2 separate regions of the Homo sapiens genome follow, and region 2 is linked to region 1. The links are contacts of gene promoters, found by promoter capture Hi-C in human tissues and cell types (Jung and others, 2019). All regions are on one chromosome and are shown on one strand. The core of a region is centred on a gene start or on the middle of the fragment in contact, and the rest is flanking DNA. Distances in the headings are between cores, read along the strand shown. Region 1 holds the start of KCNJ11 (potassium inwardly rectifying channel subfamily J member 11). Region 2 overlaps ABCC8 (ATP binding cassette subfamily C member 8).

Region 1 (4,866 bases), core at 2,367-4,866:
AACACTATTTCAATTGCAAATGACAGGAACCCAATTCAAAGTAACCTAAGCAGAAACTGAATTTATTGAATATGTGACTGACAAGGCTAAGAGGTATACTACTTCAAGCATGGCTGGACCCAGGTGTTTGACATCCATCTGGGATGTGTCTTCCTTTCTGGGTTCCATTTTCCTCCCCTTTCATTATGACAGATGGCCACTAGCAGGTCCAGCTTACATCCTGCCCCAAGGCAACCCAAGAGGCAAAACAGATACTCCTTCCCAATAGTTCCAGCAAAAGCTTGGGAGCAAATCTCAATGCACCAACTTGGATCACATTCCCATCCCCACCCCACTGTGATCAGAGGGGTGGCATACACTGGCTGGCTAGGCCTGGATCATGTCTCCATCTCCATCCCTCAAGCAGGGGCATTCAGAAGTGGAAAGGTGGTCCTTCAGAGGGAAAGCACAGTGCATGAGTCACAGGTCAGCCAGGTGGTGTCTGGGAGACGCTGGAGCCCAGACACCAGGGAGACTAAAACAGCAGCTGTCCTGACTTCCTCTGCATCACGAAACAAGAGTGCACACCTGCCCTTGGCCAAGAAATGGCAGGTGCTCATTTACATCTCATTTTATGATCATTTGCATATCATCTGCAGTACTGGCTGCACCAAGCCCTGAGGTGCAGACCTAAGAGTCTTGAACCTGCATCCTCTTGGCTGCAAGGGGATCATAGAGGCACAACATAAGAAAAGCCCACCAGTTATCGGAGGCAGGTCCAGTGCAGACCCCTGTGGATGTTCCAGGAGCCAGAGAAGCTCGGAAAGGAAGAGCTCTGTAAAGCCTGGCAGCCTGCCTGGAAAAGACAAAATTTGAGTTAAATATTGTGGGGGATAGGGATTGGTTAGGCAGAAAGTCAGAGAAAGGGTTGGGGTGGCAGGTAGGGACAGCAGGAGCTAAGGAGTGATGGTGGAAGTGTGTTAAGAGTGTTGGTTGATCAGGGAGGTGGGAGAGAGATTACAGCAGTGGGGAGGGCATCATATCAGAGAGCCCTGAATGCCAGAGCAAGGAGTGTGGGCTATGCCCATGGACAAAAAGGGAGAAGGGTTTTGAGCAAGAAAGCGACTTGACAAGTTCAGTATTTGGTGGAGATGACTATAAGCAAGTGCAGGATGGAGCAAAAGGGGAGGCTGAGCCTTTCAGGTGGGAGACTCAGCCTCTCAGAAGGGTGAGCAGCAGGGAGGGAGGTAAGGCCTCAAGGCTGCACCAGGAGGCAGAACCCAGCCTTTCCAGCTCTGAGATTTCCCCAGGGGCCCAGCAGCTTCCTCCACTGTGAGATCTCCCAAGAGCAGAGCCGGGGAACTGAAAGAGGACTCCACAAGCCTACCACTGCTCCAAAGCCACCCCACCTCAACAGATTGAAGGGAAGTAGCAGGGGCAGGGCTGGGCCCACAGTGAGGTGTTGCAGGGATGCCCAAGGTCATCCTGGCCCAAAATCCCTGTATAACATCCCTCATGGCCCACCGACTTGATTTGGGTACCCCACAGATGTGGCTCATCTCTGGTTATTGTTATTAGAACTGACTCTTGCATATGTGAAACCAAAGCCTGCCTCTGTTCCACTTAGTGTCCTGGTTCTACCCTTTGGGCCACAAAAAACTACTAGTTCATCCTCCTTCAAGGCCAGGTGTTTCTGCAATAGTGCCCAAATCCCTGGGGGACTTTCCTTTTCTGATGGCTGGACAGTTGTAGTTGCCTCAGAGATTTCCCCATGTAACCCTGTCTCCTTGAGCTTCCCACTCTGCTCATCTCATTTTACCCTCCCCTTCCTAGACACTGCATCTTTGTTAATATAGCCCATGATCACACCCATCCTTTGTAGCGGTGTTCGCTCTGCCTGCAGGTGGGTAGGGAGAGAAAGGAAAATCCAATATAAAATGCATATCTTGCCCCCACTGTGGCCCACAGCCACACTGCCTTTTCCAGACCCTGTCTCAAGCCCCCACTCCAACAAAATGGCCGCAGATGGTCAGGGGTTCTTCCATAAGGATCTGAGCCACAGACAGCGGTAAAGCCGTTACTGTTCCAACAACAGAGATCTAGCAGGCTTTCCCTCCCAGCTGAGAACCCGGGTCCATGCCACAGGGCAGCCTCAGGCTGATGCCTGAACAGAAACACCACCATGCCGGGACCAAGAGCCTGGGTCCCCCAGTGCCCGAGGCAGCCCTAACACACTGTTCAGGCCTAAATACCACCCATGACCTAACGTGGAAGAAGTCAGGTGACAGGTGTGAGAAAGTGTAAAGCAAGTGGCCTCGGCTCAAACCTTCTTTAAAGTAGGGCCGGAATGGCTGAGAAGATGGAGCCGCCCAGGCTGCCCCACAGCAGTAGCAGGTGTTAAACTGTGCTCCTTTCCTGCCGAGGCCTTTTTTTTTTTTTTTTTTTTTTTTTTTTTTAATGAGAGGGAGTCTGAGCTTCCATCAGATTGTCAAAGGATTCAAGACTAAGATTAAGAGCATCCCCCAAAGAGAAGCAGCTGCAGGTTGAGAAGTCCTCGGACCGCCTAATTTCCGCCAGCCCTGGGATTGGTGGCGCCGCCTCTCAGCGCCTCCTTTCCCGGGGAACCTGCAAACCTGGCGCGGCCGAGAGGCGGATTACTGACCCAAATACGGATGGGGATATTGGGGGAGGGGAGCCAGGGCGACAGGGCGGCGGCCCCAGACTGGGAGGGCGGGTCACAGATCCCTCCCAGCCCCCCACTTTCGTAGAGCGTGGGCAGGAGGAACCTCTGGGTTCCGCGGATCAGAAAAACTCCAAAGGCCGGGTTGTGAGTCCCGGGAGGGGAGGTGGAGGGCGGGGGCGGGGAGGGGCGCGGGAGGGGCGGGGGCTTGCTCCGGCCCCGCCCCCTGCGCTCCGGTGCAGGTCGGGCTCCCCCTGGCGGTCCCCGGCCCCGTTCCTCTCCTCGTGCGCCCCCCTCCCGCCGTCCTAGACCCCTGCCTAGCCCAGGTCGGTCTCCGCGGACCCACGGACGGACAGACAGACGGGAGGACGGCCAGCCGCGAGCGCCCGGGCGGCGGGAGGGGGCGGGGAGGCGACGGCCGTGGCGTGAGGAGCAGGAGCAGGTGCAGCGGCGGCGGCGGGCGGGGCCGGGACCCGGCGCGGAGCGGGAGCCGCGGCGCGGGCGGGCGGCAGGGACCGGGAGGCCGCGACTCGGAGTCAGCCCCGCCGGGTCGCGCGCAGGTCCGGGGAGCCGCGGTTGAGCCGGGTGGGGTGGTGACTCCAGAGAACGCAGGATCCCAAGGAGACAGAGAGGACGAGAGCTGGAGGGGGATCCGGAAAGCGGCGGGGGCGCTCCGGGAGGGGTGGAGTAGGACATAGGGGGCGCACCTGGAGGAGAGACGGGGCGGGGGTGGCCAGGACCTGAGCTGGAGCCTGGGAGCCCGAAGGCCAGACAGGTGAGGCGGGAGACCCGGAGGTGGGGGTGAGGTCCGGTTAGTGGGAGAGATCCGGAGGTGTTAAGTTCTGAGCTGGGCTGGGAAGGCAGGCTGGGCGGGGAGAAGGGCTCTTAGCGGGAGGCCCAGGGGTGGTCAGCTGGTGGGGGAAGCTGGGGGAGGACGCAGGGCCAGGTGGAGAGCCGGCAGGGTTGGGGGCTCCCTAGGCGCCAGGCAGGTGGGCTCAAGGGTGAGGCTGTTTTTTTTGTTTTGTTTTTTGTTTTTGAGACGGAGTCTCGCTCTGTCGCCCAGGCTGGAGTGCAGTGGCGTGATCTTGGCTCACTGCAACCTCCGCCTCTCGGGTTCAAGCGATTCTCCTGCCTCAGCTTCCTGAGTAGCTGGGATTACAGGTGCGCACCACCATGCCCGGCTAACTTTTGTATTTTTAGTAGAGATGGGGTTTCACCATGTTGGTCAGGCTGGTCTCGAACTCCTGACCTAGTGATCTGCCCTCCTCAGCCTCCCAACGTACTGGGATTACAGGCGTGAGCCACCGCGCCCGGCCTGAGGCTGGTATTAAGAAGTGAAGTGGGACCCAGGTGGAGGTAAGGAAGAGTCTGGTGGGGAGTTATCTCAGAAGTGAGGCCAGCACAGGCTGAGTGCAGCCCCAGGGTGAGAAGGTGCCCACCGAGAGGACTCTGCAGTGAGGCCCTAGGCCACGTCCGAGGGGTGCCTCCGATGGGGGAAGCCCCTCCCTGGGGGTCACCGGAGCCATGCTGTCCCGCAAGGGCATCATCCCCGAGGAATACGTGCTGACACGCCTGGCAGAGGACCCTGCCAAGCCCAGGTACCGTGCCCGCCAGCGGAGGGCCCGCTTTGTGTCCAAGAAAGGCAACTGCAACGTGGCCCACAAGAACATCCGGGAGCAGGGCCGCTTCCTGCAGGACGTGTTCACCACGCTGGTGGACCTCAAGTGGCCACACACATTGCTCATCTTCACCATGTCCTTCCTGTGCAGCTGGCTGCTCTTCGCCATGGCCTGGTGGCTCATCGCCTTCGCCCACGGTGACCTGGCCCCCAGCGAGGGCACTGCTGAGCCCTGTGTCACCAGCATCCACTCCTTCTCGTCTGCCTTCCTTTTCTCCATTGAGGTCCAAGTGACTATTGGCTTTGGGGGGCGCATGGTGACTGAGGAGTGCCCACTGGCCATCCTGATCCTCATCGTGCAGAACATCGTGGGGCTCATGATCAACGCCATCATGCTTGGCTGCATCTTCATGAAGACTGCCCAAGCCCACCGCAGGGCTGAGACCCTCATCTTCAGCAAGCATGCGGTGATCGCCCTGCGCCACGGCCGCCTCTGCTTCATGCTACGTGTGGGTGACCTCCGCAAGAGCATGATCATCAGCGCCACCATCCACATGCAGGTGGTACGCAAGACCACCAGCCCCGAGGG
Region 2 (4,791 bases), core at 215-2,714, 60 kb before region 1:
GACATAGAATAGGTTCCTGCCTTAAGAAAACCTGACCCACAAAAAAGCCTGGGTTTACACAAAAGAGGAATTAAGGGCGGGGAGCCCACCTTACAACAGAATGAATAATAGAATTTTATCCAAGAGCAGGCATCCTGAGGACATTTAAGACCCGGATGCATTTTTCCTTGTTCAAGAGCACACATCCAAAAATTGCAGTCTTTCTGCGAGTCATGATCACTCTGCACATAAAGCGTTTAGGTTCAGAGCTCGGGGAGGCCATTACCATGGCTGCTCTCTGTCTGCCCTGTGAGGGTCCTTGGGGTGGCTGCACTCTGGGGATGGTGCTGGGGCTGACTGACTCACGCGGTCGTGTAACACATCAGACCTTCCAAAGTCGAACCCTTGTTTTGTTTCAAGGCTCAATTATGACAGGACTTGGTCTCAGAGCAGATCCCCTCCCTAGGCTGGAGAAGGCCACTTTAAAACAGATGGCCTGCCCCACTTCATCATTTTTATGGCTCTGATCTGTGTTCTCCACTGGCCTCTGGTAAATCAAGAATACAAGTGGACATGAAGATCTGCTTTAAAAAATAAAGAACAGACCGGGTGCGGTGGCTCATGCCTGTAATCTCAGCATTTGGAGGCCGAGGTGGATGGATCTCCTGAGGTCAGGAGTTTGAGACCAGCCTGGCCAACATGGCAAAACCCCATCTCTGCTAAAAATATAAAAATTAGCTGGGCATGGTAGGCACGTGCCTATAATTCCAGCTACTCCGGAGGCTGAGGCATGAGAATTGCTTGAACCCGGAAGGTGGAGGCTGCAGTGAGCTGAGATCATGCCACTTCACTCCAGCCTGGGAAGCAGAGCGAGACTCTGTCTCTAAATAAATAAGTAAATGAATTAAATTAAATAAAAATAAAGAACCAATTAAGTCCTGTCTACAGGAAAAGGCCTTACTTGCTGGAGAAGTAGCTTGCTGTGCTGGAGTAGACTAGTAAGTTGGAACGGTGATACAGTACCACCTTACAGAGCTGCTCTAGGGCACCATGGGGACTGTCTGAGAAGCCCCTGGCACACTGTAACAGGTGGCATCTGGTGTGGTGATGATGATGAGAATGATGATGAATGTGAAACACTCTGCTCTCATTTCTAGACCAAGATTTACAATAAAATTATGCACCTGTCCACCTCCAACCTGTCCATGGGAGAAATGACTGCTGGACAGATCTGTAATCTGGTTGCCATCGACACCAATCAGCTCATGTGGTTTTTCTTCTTGTGCCCAAACCTCTGGGCTATGCCAGTACAGGTACTAGATGGGCTGAGGGGAAGGGAGGGGGGCAGCAGGACACACAACCAGAATCTGCTGGTCCATGGCCAGTAACTAGGAGCACACCGTCTTCCACTCCATGCTTGCCTGTACCTTTCACACACTTGGCTATACCACAGGCTGTACCTCTGGGTCCCTCCTGTCCCATACTCTGCAAGCACTGACCATCTCTCTTAATGACCAGAGAAGGCAGTATCATTAAGACTTTAAAAATGGAGCCAACTTTATAAACTATAGAAAAATCAAGCCAGGTTCAGGGGCTCACACCTGTAATCCCAGCACTTTGGGAGGCTGAGGCAGGAAGATTACATGAGCACAGGAGTTCAAGACTGGCCTGGGCAACACAGTGAGACCCCTTCTATGCAGAAAAAAAAAAGAAGAAAGAAAAGAAAAATCGTACATGGAATGCCCACAGATCTTAAAAGCTATGTTGTAGCAAAATATTTAATTACATCAAAAAGTGTTAGTGATGTATTTTTAAGCAAAAAGAGTAAGTTACAAATAGTATATGTTGTATGCTTACTACTAAACTGGAATATATGTTATGTATACATTTGTACAGATTCACACATGAAAAAGAATTGGAAAATCACATAGTGGGATTATAAGTGATTTTTATTTTCTTTATGTGTTTCTAAATTCTCTAATAAGCGTGTATAAGATTTGGAAATCAACAACATGATACTTTTAGCCTAGGCAACAAAGTGAGACCCTGTCTGTACAAAAAATTAGCTGGAAGTGGTGGCTCACAACTATAGCCCCAGCTACTCAGAGGCTGAGGTGGGAAGATTACCTAAAGTCCAGGAGGCAGAGGTTGCAGTGAGCTACAATCACACCACTGCACTCCAGCCTGGGCGATAGAGTGACACCTTGTCTCAAAAACAAACAAAACCTGGTGTTTTTTAGCCAGATGTGGTGGTGCGCCCCTTTAGTCCCAGCTACCTGGGAGTCTGAGATGGAAGGATTGCTTGACCCCAGGAGTTCAAGGCTGCAGTGAGCAATGATCACGCCCCTGCACTTCAGCCTGGACAACAGAGAGACTCCTGTCTCTTAAAAAATAAAAATAAAAACGTTAAAACATGGTATTTTTTTAAAGCAAGACAACCTTTGGTGCTGGCTCAGGAAGAGGTACATTACCCCCCAATAATCAGAGGAGAATCGTCAGCATGATTGATCTGACCTCGGGCTTCATGTGTCCCATCTCCCACCCGGAGCTCTTCCACCACAGAGTCTGATCCTGTCCTATGCCTGGGACTAAATCTTCACCCTGGTGTTCAGGCCAGAAACCGAAATCCCAGACCCATTCCCAGAGGGCGGGAAGGTTCCACCGGGAGAGCTTGATGTAGCAGAAAGTGACTTGGGTGAGACAGGCTGATTCAAATACTTAACCTCTCTGAGCCTTGGTTTCTTTATCTATGAAATGGGGAGGCTGCCCACCCTCTGGAGTTGCTATGGCAATTCAGTTAGATAATGTAAGTAACACAGCAGGCAGAGTGGCCCCCAGAGTCTTCACTTCGTAAATATCAGATCCCTCTACCTTGCACATGTTTGGTATGAGTGAGGTGTTACCAATCCAGAATCCATTGCTTCTTGGGATAAAGATTCCATAAACCTTCATCTCCAGTGATTTGTATTGGTCCTCCTTACTTGTAAAGCTTAGAGTTTAAAAATATTAAAAGAAAAAAAGGGGAGAGGCTCCCACAGGGACACAGCTAGACAAGATGAGATGCAGGGAATCTGATGTTCTTTTTTATGGGAACAGTCATATATGCCATCCCCCATTACCACCTACCCATGCCCAGACTGCCCCCGCTCCATTCTGCCAAGACAGATCAATGACTATAAAAGCTACAAAAGGGCCTGGAGATCTCATCTAGTTTAGTTACCAACCAACCTTTTATGCACAAGACTTTCTAAGCTGGGTGTGGTGGCTCATGCCTGTAGTCTCAGCCACTCAAAAGGCTGAGGTAGGAGGATGGCTTGAGCCCAAGAGTTCGAGTCCAGCCTGGGCAACATAGAGAGACCTCATCTCTAACACAATTTTTTTTTTGAAACATGAAAAATGAAGATTTCTGACCATGCTTCTCTCATTAGTTAACACTTTGGGCTGTGAGGGTCTGATGCAGAGAGACACAGCCTGGGAGGATCCTAACATGTACACAGCATTCAAAAGGCTACAAGACACTTTCTGTTGTGTCCCCTTGAACAAGCAGTTTGTAAGATTTTGTTGGCCAGGCATGGTGGCTCGCTCCTGTAATCCCAGCACTTTGGGAGGCTGAGGCTGATGGTTCACCTGAGGTCAGGAGTTCGAGACCAGCCTGACCAATATGGTGAAACCCCGTCTCTACTAAAAATACAAAAATTAGCCGGGCATGATGGCGTGTGCCTGTAGTCTCAGCTACTCCGGAGGCTGAGACAGGAGAATTGCTTGAGCCCAGGAGGCGGAGACTGTGGTGAGCTGAGATCGTGTCACTGCGTTCCAGCCTGGGTAACAGAGCGAGACTCGGTCTAAAAAAAAAAAAAAAAAAGAAATCAGGTTTTGTCTACTAAACCTGCTGCACGGTTACCGTTACTAGTACTCACAGGGTTTGTTGCACATGCATCGTTGCTAATAGTGCTAACTAATATTAACAGCCCTTGCCCTATGCCTGGCCCTGTCCCAGCCCCCCTCCCTTGTATAATTTAACCCTTGCACTGGGGGTAGAGATTTTCATATCTACTGATTTCTTACCTTTGCTCATTTATCATGGAGTGTCCTTTGGTTTTCTGTGTTTGTATATACCTTTACCACTTATAGATTTGACCAGCACTCAAGAACCAGTGTTACTCCTGGGAGTTAATACAATCCCAGCCCCATGGCAAAGAAACTCATGTGGTTAGGATTCTGTGTGCAGCCTGGTTAGCCACAGGGCACGTAAGGCTTTTTATAATATTGACATGAGTGCAGAAGCCCCATTCCCGTGTAAGCCCTGAGGGCTCTTGTTTCATAATCTTTTTTTGGTCACATGCACACAGCTTTATTGAGATATAACCCACTCATTTAAAGCATACAAATCAGTGGGTTTTAGTGTCCTATATTCACAGAGCTGTGCAGCCATCATCACAAATGTGGAAGTTTTCATTTCCCCAAAAAGAAACCCGTACCCATTGGCAGTCACTCCTCATCTTCGCCCCCAGCCCTTGGCCACCGTTTATCTACACATACTTTTGAAAGGCTAGTGAAACTTTCTCAGAAAAATAAATGCTTGCTCAAACATTTGGGCTATAATTTCAGGGGCTTCATGGGTGCCCCCCTGACATTTATCAAGAACACCAGGTTAAGGAATTTAGCTATAATGGAGGCCTCTGTGTTTCCCAGTCTCCTGGGTATCAGAGGCCCAGAGAGGGCAGGTGCCTTACCCTGGGCCACGCAGTGAACCAGTGGCAGCACCATACTCACACATCTCCTTTCTGCGGTTCCCCAGTGACAGAGTTCTCA

What was found. Contacts are between HindIII fragments. The study calls those that stand out against the background at their distance.
Region 2: a fragment that was not itself captured here is called in contact with the fragment with the promoter of KCNJ11 in region 1 in 1 of the 25 tissues and cell types used here (dorsolateral prefrontal cortex).

What each region holds. Positions count from the first base shown.
Region 1 is chr11:17,387,409-17,392,274 of GRCh38, reverse strand. KCNJ11 (potassium inwardly rectifying channel subfamily J member 11) reads left to right here and starts at 3,616. Exons shown (of 1, transcript NM_000525.4): 1 at 3,616-4,866. The coding sequence starts at 4,184. RefSeq lists silencers at 2,536-2,635, 2,716-3,225 and an enhancer at 4,434-4,866. The HindIII fragment of the contact is 21,135 bases long and covers 1-4,866 here.
Region 2 is chr11:17,445,017-17,449,807 of GRCh38, reverse strand. ABCC8 (ATP binding cassette subfamily C member 8) reads left to right here. Exons shown (of 39, transcript NM_000352.6): 8 at 1,137-1,292. Among named protein-coding and RNA genes, the nearest start is that of ABCC8, 29 kb to the left of the region's middle. The HindIII fragment of the contact is 7,581 bases long and covers 1-4,791 here.